2 separate regions of the Homo sapiens genome follow, and region 2 is linked to region 1. Evidence: promoter capture Hi-C in human tissues and cell types (Jung and others, 2019). All regions are on one chromosome and are shown on one strand. Each heading gives the region's core, a stretch centred on a gene start or on the middle of the fragment in contact. The rest is flanking DNA. Distances are from core to core; before and after follow the strand shown. Region 1 holds the start of SYNGR1 (synaptogyrin 1). Region 2 overlaps ADSL (adenylosuccinate lyase).

Region 1 (3,362 bases), core at 15-2,514:
GCTGGCCTTGGGGTAGCCCCTGGGGTCCCTGACAGTCTAGCCCATTCCTAGTCTAAGCCCACAAGGAACGGGCCCCAGGCCTGCAGAGGCCAGAACCTCGAGTGGGAGTTTCTGGGATACAGCCAGCCAAACCCAGGGAGCCCCAGAAACCCCCTCTCCAGACCCCAGCAGGGCTTCTTTCCATGAGGTGCCACTCAAGGCACCTGAACCCCTCCCTCTGTGCTCACTGTCTCTGACCCATCCTCTCCCTGACCACCCGTCTGAACAAGAGCCCACTCAGCCCTCTGCACTGAGGACCCTGCCCCCCAGCTAGGCTGGAGGCCACCCTGGCCTCTTCACTGTGGGAGCAGACCTTTCTCCCAGACACCCGCCTTGGGCATCCAGGTGCATGCTGAGTGGGAGGGGTGTTACCGGTTCATGAAATGTCAGAGCCCAAGGGGGCCTCAAGAAGGCTCCGCCCACCTTGTCTATAAATTGGGAAACTGAGGCATGAGAGAGGAGATGACACTCCCCACCTCGGAATTGAAGTCCTCATTTCTCGAGAACATTTCCTGGGTGGCTCCCAGCCCAAGGTCACGCAGAGAAGGAGAGGCAGTTCCCGGGTGGAAGAGAGGTACTCAGTTCCCGACTCATCGCTCCACACGGGCCGGGCTAGGCAATACGAACCCGGTTCCCGGCCCTCTCCTCCTCCAACGTCCATCGCAGGCGCGGCATGCACCCCACCGAGATGGTCCACGCCCTGATCCACCCCCCAAAAAAGGCCACCTTAAACCCTGGCTCCGTCCCCACGGTCCCCAGTCCGCCCTGGCGGCCGCGCACAATCCGAGCCTTTCGCGGCATAGCCGCGGCCTGGAGGTCACAGCAATCGGGGCGGGAAGGGGGGCGCACGAACCGGGGGCCCCAGGAAACCAGGGCTCCGGGAGCCGGAGCGGCGTCTCCCGCGAGCACCAGGGATCCCGCCCGCCCCGGGCCCGGGAAGGAGGAGCGGCGGCAGCGGGCCCCGCAGGCAGGACAGCTCCTCGCCCGCCGCCGCGCCGCCGCCGGGGGCCCGTTGGGGTCGGGGTCGGGGTCGGTCCGGGCGCGCCGCCTTTGCTCACACCCCCACCACCCCGGCCTGGCAGAGCCGTCGGCCAGTCCGTCCTTACCCAAGACACGACGCGCAGGATGGTGTGCGGCTGCCGGACCAGGGTGTAGGGGTCGAAGGCGCCCCCGGCTTTGCCCGCTCCGTACGCACCCCCTTCCATCGTGGCTGCACCCGCGCGGTGCCCCCCGCTCGGCGCGCGCCGCCGGCCCGTGCGCGTGCGCGGCGCCCCCGCCCCCTCCCCTGCGCGCGCGGCCGGCGGCCCAGGGCTCCCGCGAGGGGGCGTCGTGCGCGGCGGGCGCAGCTCGCGGGGCGCGGGCGGGGGGCTGGGCAGCGCGCGACCTCGGGCGCGGGGGCGCGCGTGCTGCGGCCCGGGGCTCAGGGCGCGCTCGCAGCCAGTGCGGTGACCTCTTTGCAAAGTGTTTGGGGGAGGGCGGTGCGTGCACAGCAAGTGTGGGCCGTGTCCCTGCCCCGCATCCCCGGTCCCCTGCCCCGGTCGCAGCCCCTCTGAGCCGTCGGCTCTGCTGAAACCATCTTCACGCTTGATTTGTTTGGCTGTTTCCTGCCACTTTGTCGGCCCCAAATATAATGAGAGGGCAGGAGCTGTGTTCGTCCTTCTTAGAGGGTGCTTGGTACGCAGTAGGCGCCGCATGAATATTTCTCGAATGAATGAACCACGAGTGAATGACCCTCTCTTACAGCCCTCCAGAGCAGCCCCCACCTCCCAGGACCACCCTTCCCCTGCCTCTTACGATGACGTCATGTGTGTCCCTGTGCCCGCGCACCCTCCCACCCCCAGCCTGGAGGGGCCTGGCACAGAGGCGGCGGCTGAGACTTCCTCTTCCCCATCCCCTCCTACCCCAGAACGTTGCCCCTTTCCTGAATCTAGCAATTAATTACGCAATCATTTGTTCATGGCCTCTTCTGCTGCTAGTCTGTGAGCTCCCGAGGCCCAGGTGTTGTCTAACTTATTCAATGCCTTACCCAAGGGCCTAGCATACAGTAGGTGCTCAGTAAACAGAGCCTAGTCCCCATCACCCCATCACAGCTTGGGCTAGACCTCCAGGTTTCATGGAAACGGAGGCTAGATGGAGGAGTGCTCCCTGCAGGGGAAGGGCCACCTTCCAGGGCTGGCTCTCCTGCTGCCCTGTAGCTCTATGGCCTCTCTATGTCTGCAGTCACCTTCACTGGTTCCAGGAGCAGGTTGGATGAGGATATGGGTGGAGGCTTTTGCTTCTCTGGTATCCTGCCATTCTGTGATGACAGGACACAACATCTGTGTGGAGGAAATGTGTGCTGGGCCTGAGGGTGCTCCTTATAAAAATTACATAGTCAATGTCCATCTTAGGCTCAGCTGATTGTTTAGTCTCTACCAGGCCTTGTGCTAAGGGCTTTACATACATTTTCACATTTAATCCAGCACACTTATAAGGTGTCTACTATGACTATATAAAACTTTTAGAAGAAAGCACAAGAGAAGGCCGGGCGCAGTGGTTCACGCCTGTAATCCCAGCACCTTGGGAGGCCAAGGTGGATGGATCACAAGGTCAAGTGATTGAGACCATCCTGGCCAACATGGTGAACCCGGTCTCTACTAAAAATACAAAAATTAGCCGGGCGTGGTGGCGAGCTCCTGTAGTCCCAGCTACTTGGGAGGCTGAGGCAGGAGAATCACTTGAACCCAGGAGGTGGAGGTTGCAGTGAGCCGAGATCGCGCCACAGCACTCCAGCCTGGCAACAGAGCGAGACTCCGTCTCAAAAAAAAAAAAAAAAAAAAAAAATCATGAAGAACATGATTCATAAAAGAAACAATTGATAAACTGGACTTTATCAAAATTAAGAACTTCTGTTCTTTAAAAGACATTGTTAAAAGAATGTATGAAAAGACAAACGATAGTCTGGGAGAAAATATTTGCAAAGCATAGATCTAAAGAACTTGCATCCCAAATAAAGAACGTTCGAACTCAATAATAATAAGAGGACCCACTTTTTAAAAAATGGGCAAAAGATTTGAATAGTTATACACCTCACCAAAGAAGATATACACACGGCAACTCAGCACATAAAAAGATGCCCAGCATCCGCGGTGGCTCACGCCTATAATCCCAGCACTTTGGGAGGCCGAGACGGGCAGATCATGAGGTCAGGAGATTGAGACCATCCTGGCTAACACGGTGAAACCTCATCTCTAGTAAAAATACAAAAAAAAAAAAAAAAAAATTAGCCGGGTGTAGTGGCTGTAGTCCCAGCTACTCGGGAGGCTGAAGCAGGAGAATGGCGT
Region 2 (5,302 bases), core at 1,361-3,860, 1.0 Mb before region 1:
CATCTCCTTGAGGTTTGCCAGGAGGCGTATGTCGGTGCAAATCTGGGGGAGGTAGGGGAATAAGCATCACCCCACACTGTCAGTGTGCAGTAGAGTCTGGGAGCTGTGACTAGGCTGATGAAGGAGATGAGCTCTTAGGTGTGCTGTGGCTGAGCTGAAGACCAGCGCATCCTCCCAAAGAGCTCCTGCAGAGTATCTTACTCCGACTCCTCTCTGTTCCCGAAGGACTGGGATGACAAATTCAAGGAGCATGAAAACGCTTTTGTGAAACACTGCTTAAGGCATCATGGAAAGAAAATCACAAGATTAATTCAGGATGGGCGCGGTGGCTCACACCTGTAATCCCAGCATTTTGGGAGGCTGAGGTGGGTGGATCACCTGAGGTCAGGAGTTCGAGACCAGCCTGGCCAACATGGTGAAACCCTGCCTCTACTAAAATTAGCCAGACATTGTGGTGCATGCCTGTAATCCCAGCTACTTGGGAGGCTCGCTCGAACCCAGGAGGTGGAGGTTGCAGTGAGCCGAGATCATACCATTGCACTCCAGCCTGGGCAACAAGAGCGAAACTCCATCTCGAAAAAAAAAAAAGATTAATTTAATATACCACTGAACAAGATGGATGTTTTGCAGTGCTTGAGATAACTTTAAAGAAAATGCCAAAACGAGTCTTCCCCTTAAGGGTTTCATTTACAGACCACAAATTATTAAAACTAATGTAAAATATTGCTTGAGAGAGATGGTTAAGTAAAAGTCTGAGGTTAATTCAGTCTGTCTGTGGTGCCCAAAGCTCCTGTCCCCACCCCACATGCTGCCACCACTCACCTTGTGCACTGATGCCCCCAAGCTAGCCAGCACAGACAGTACTTCAATATCCACTTTTCGTGTATATGTCTGCCCTGTGATGATGAAAGCTCTAGGAATAAGTACAAGAGAGACTTAGGTTAAAATATTTTAAAGCCATTGCAGTGGTGCATGACTGTAGTCCCAGCTACTTAGGAGGCTAACGGAGGAGGACTGCTTTAACTCAGGAGGTTAAGGCCAGCCTAAGCATCACTGGGAGACTCTTATAAAATAATAATAATTCAAAACATGACTCTGTCAAACAAGGAAAAACACATCCTAAAGAAAAGCTTGGTCTTATTGGTATGCTAAGTTATACTCAACCAGTGGACCTGAGTGGTAACTTGCTCCTGGAATAAACTATTCTTCCACCCTTTTCACTAATACTCAGGACAATGGCCTGACTCAAGAAGGATACATGGTGCAACGTGCCCATGTCTGGCCACAGCCCAATAGAAATGCCTGGGAGAAGGAGCCATGGTGGAACCTGGTGGACCTCAATGGAAATGGTCAGATTTAGCCTAACCTGTTGGGGGCCCTAAGTAAAGAAACAAAAATGGTAACAACATGGATAAAGGTATTCTAAAGAAACCAGAAGTAAATCATTTTCTTTTTTCCTATAGATTATACAAAAAGAGAATGCAGGTCAGGCATGGTGGCTCATGCCTATAATCCTAGCACTTTGAGGCTGAGGCAGGTGGATCGCTTGATCTCAGGAGTTGGAGACCAGCCTGGGCAACATGGTCTCTACAAAACAATACAAAAATTATACAAAAACAATACAAAAATTAGCCAGGCATGCCTGTAGTCACAGGGGGCTTAGGTGGAAGGACTGCTTGAAACTGGGAGGCGGAGGCTGCCGTGAGCCGAGATCACACCGCTGCACTCCAGCCTGGGTGACAGAGTAAGACCCTGTCTCAAAAACAATAATAAAATAAAATGAAATCCAGAAAATATGTCAGCAAGACGATTAGGCGAAAAAAAAAAAAAAAAAAAAAGAATCCAGATAGTAAGAAAGTAAAACCCAGGATAGAGACAGGAAAAAAAAAAATGGGTAGAAGAACAAAGGAAGAAAAAGGCAAAAATTGTAAGGTCAAATCTGCAGGTATACTGAATATAGGACTTCCATCAACTTAACAGGGAGGCCAACACATTCCCATTTACCTACCTCTTAAATCCTGCCTTTTCTGTCACCATCTTGTCAAGCTGCTCTACCTTGGAAAGAAAAGACACATCCTTATAATAATCCATGTGTCCAGTGTGAGAATGCCTCAACCTGTCATCCTACCCAGGTCTCGCTCCCTAACCCCCACAACTTCCTTCTAGTCGAAAGACCCCACCCATCCCACAGTCAATCTCTCCTATCATCCTCAAAGGCAGCCTTGTCTCTTAGGCTCCACCATTGAGTTTCTGTGTCCTGCAGGTCACTTTCAGAATACCTTATGGTCATCTCCCTCAAAGAGCTGCAGGAAACTGGCCTGAGTGCCAGTGGTACCCTTTACTCCCCGGAAGCGCAGGTCATCTCGGACACGCTTCAAGTTCTGGAGATCCATGCAAAGATCCTGAATCCAAAGACAGCAACGTTTCCCAACTGTGGTCAGCTGTGCAGGCCTGAAAACCCAAAGAGAACACACGAAAGTCTCAGACCGAGACCTTAAATCATCAAGGTTTCATTGCTTCTTTTAATAACCACCATTACCCCTTGGAGGGAGAACAATTTAAGTAAGAGAGGGAGTAACTGGTAAAGATAAAACAAGAGATAAAATGTTTAACCAAATAATCGTTACGGAGATTCAATGTCATTTACAAATAGTCAAGGAGTATGAAACTAAAAGGCGATTAGCATAGTACTTTCTTCATCAAGAGGCAATTTTTAAATTATTATTATTTCTAGACTGGGTCTTGCTCTGTTGCCCAAGCTGAAGTGCAGTGGCATGAACATAGCTGACTGTAGCCTCGACCTCTGGAGCTCAAGTGATCCTTCTGCCTCAGCCTTCCATGTAGCTGGGACCACAGGCATGCAATACCATGCCTGGCTAATTTTTAAATTTTTTGTAGTGACGGGGTCTCACTTTGTTGCTCAGGCTGGTCTCAAACTCTATGTCTCAAGCGATCCACCTACTTCAGCCTTCCAAAGTGTTGGGATTACAGGCATGAACCACTGTGATGCACGGCAAGAGACAATTTATTATAAGGGCAGGGACAATGTCCCTTTTGTTCATGGCTATATCCACAGACATTGGTAAGAAATACATTAGATACTCGTGTAATATTTGCCAAGTATCTGATGTACTCTTACTATTGGAAATACAACAAGGAATAACACAGACAGGGTCCTTGTCCAGTGGCACTTGCTTACATTGTAAACGAGTAAAAAAAGAAAACAAAACAAGATTAGGCCAGGCGCGGTGGCTCATGCCTATAATCCCAGCACTTTGGGAGGCTGAGACGGGGGGATCACTTGAGGTCAGGAGTTCGAGACCAGCGTGGCCAACAGAGACAGGTAAAACCCTGTCTCTACTAAAAATACAAAAAATTAACTGGGCGTGGTGGCGGGTGTTTGTAATCCCAGCTACTTGGGAGGCTGAGGCAGGAGAATCACTCGAACCTGAGAGGCAGAGGTTGCAATGAGCCGAGACTGTGACACCGCACTGGGCGACACAGCCAGATTCTGTCTCAAAAAAACAAATGAAAAAAAAGAAACAAGATTAATTATTGAGATTTTAAGTGCTAAAAGAATAAAAGAACGATGAAGGTAATGGTGATGGCTGCTCTAGATTGGAAGTAGAGGAAAGCCTTTGTGAGGAGTCAAGATCCAGTGAGGAATAGTCATGCTATGGAGAACAGCTACACAACACACATAACCAGAGGACTCAAACACAGCAGCTAATGGCTTTGTTTCCAGCATTAAGCCTAAATCAAAGTAGGGTGCCATGGCTCATGCCTGTAATTCCAGCACTTTGGGAGGCCAAGGAGGGCGGATCACCTGAGATCGGGAGTTTGAGACCAGCCTGACCAACACAGAGAAACCCCGTCTCTACTAAAAATACAAAATTAGCCAGGCGTGGTGGTGCATGCCTGTAATCCTAGCTACTCGGGAAGCTGAGGCAGGAGAATCACTTGAACCCAGGAGGCGGAGGCTGCGGTGAGCCAAGATTGTGCCACTGCACTCCAGCCTGGATGACAAAAGCGAAACTCCATGTCAAAAAAAAAAAAAAAAAAAAAAAGCCCAAATCAAGCCACTGAAGGTCTGTTTCTGAACATAAAACATAATTACGAGGCCAGGTGCGGTGTCTCACGCTTGTAATCCCAGCACTTTGGGAGGCCGAGGCAGGTGGATCACTTGAAGCCAGGAGTTTGAGACCAGCCTGGCCAACATGGTAAAACCCTGTTTCTACAAAAAATACAAAAACTGGCCAAGTGTGGTGGTGCACACCTGTAATCCCAGGTACTTGGGAGGCTGAGGTGGGAGAATCACTTGAATCCGGGAAGCTGAGGCTGCAGTGAGCTGAGATCACACCACTGTACCCCAATCTAGGTGACAGAGTGAGACTCTGTCTCAAAACAAAACAAAAAAACAAAATATATAATTATGAATAAGTTGCCCTAATGTCCAATTTCTTTCTTTTTTGAGACAGGGTCTCACTCTGTCACCCCAGGCTGGCACACGCTGGTATAATCACAGCTCACTGTAGCCTCAATCTCCTGGGCTCAAGCCAACCTCCTGCCTCAGCCTCCTGAGTGGCTGGAACTACAGGCACAAGCCACCACACCTGGCTAACTTTATTTTTTTTAAGAGCCATGGTCTCCCTATGTTGCCCAGGCTGGTCTCGAACTCCATGCCTCAAGCTATCGTCCTGCCTTGGCCCCGCAAAGTGCCGAGATTACAGCCATAAGTCACTATGACCAGCCTAATTTCTTTCTTTTTTTTTTTTTTTTGGAGACGGAATTTCACTCTGTCGCCCAGGCTGGAGTGCAGCGGCGCGATCTTGGCTCACTGCAACCTCTGCCTCCGGGGTTCAAGTGATTCTCCTGCCTCAGCCTCCTGAGTAGCTGGGATTACAGGCATCTGCCACCACACCCAGCTATTTGTGTTATTTTTAGCACACATGGAGTTTCACCATGTTGGCCAAGCTGGTCTTGATTTCCTGACCTCGTGATCCACCTGCCTCGGCCTCCCAAAGTGCTGAGATTACAGGCACGATCCACTGCGCCCGGCTGCCCAGCCTAACCGCCCAGCCTAATTTCTTTCTTTCTTTTCTTTTTTTTTTTTGAGGTGGAGTCTCGCTCTGTCACCTAGGCTGGAGTGCAATGGTGCAATCTTGGCTCACTACAACCTCCGCCTCCCAGGTTCAAACAATTCTCCTGCCTCAGCCTCCCAAGTAGCTGGGACTATAGGCATGCGCCACTGCGTCCGGCTAATTTTTTTTTTTTTTTTTTTTGTATTTTTAGTAGAGACAGG

The links. The method cuts DNA at HindIII sites, captures the fragments that hold promoters and counts their contacts. A contact is called where the count stands out against the background at its distance.
Region 2: a fragment that was not itself captured here is called in contact with the fragment with the promoter of SYNGR1 in region 1 in 1 of the 25 tissues and cell types used here (dorsolateral prefrontal cortex).

Annotation. Positions count from the first base shown.
Region 1 is chr22:39,347,893-39,351,254 of GRCh38, reverse strand. It overlaps SYNGR1 (synaptogyrin 1), which reads right to left and starts at 1,264. Exons shown (of 4, transcript NM_004711.5): 1 at 1,146-1,264. The coding sequence starts at 1,244. RefSeq lists a silencer at 1,058-1,217. The HindIII fragment of the contact is 13,153 bases long and covers 1-3,362 here.
Region 2 is chr22:40,356,013-40,361,314 of GRCh38, reverse strand. ADSL (adenylosuccinate lyase) reads right to left here. Exons shown (of 13, transcript NM_000026.4): 5 at 2,280-2,451; 6 at 2,009-2,055; 7 at 823-913; 8 at 1-42. Among named protein-coding and RNA genes, the nearest start is that of SGSM3, 12 kb to the left of the region's middle. The HindIII fragment of the contact is 4,642 bases long and covers 290-4,931 here.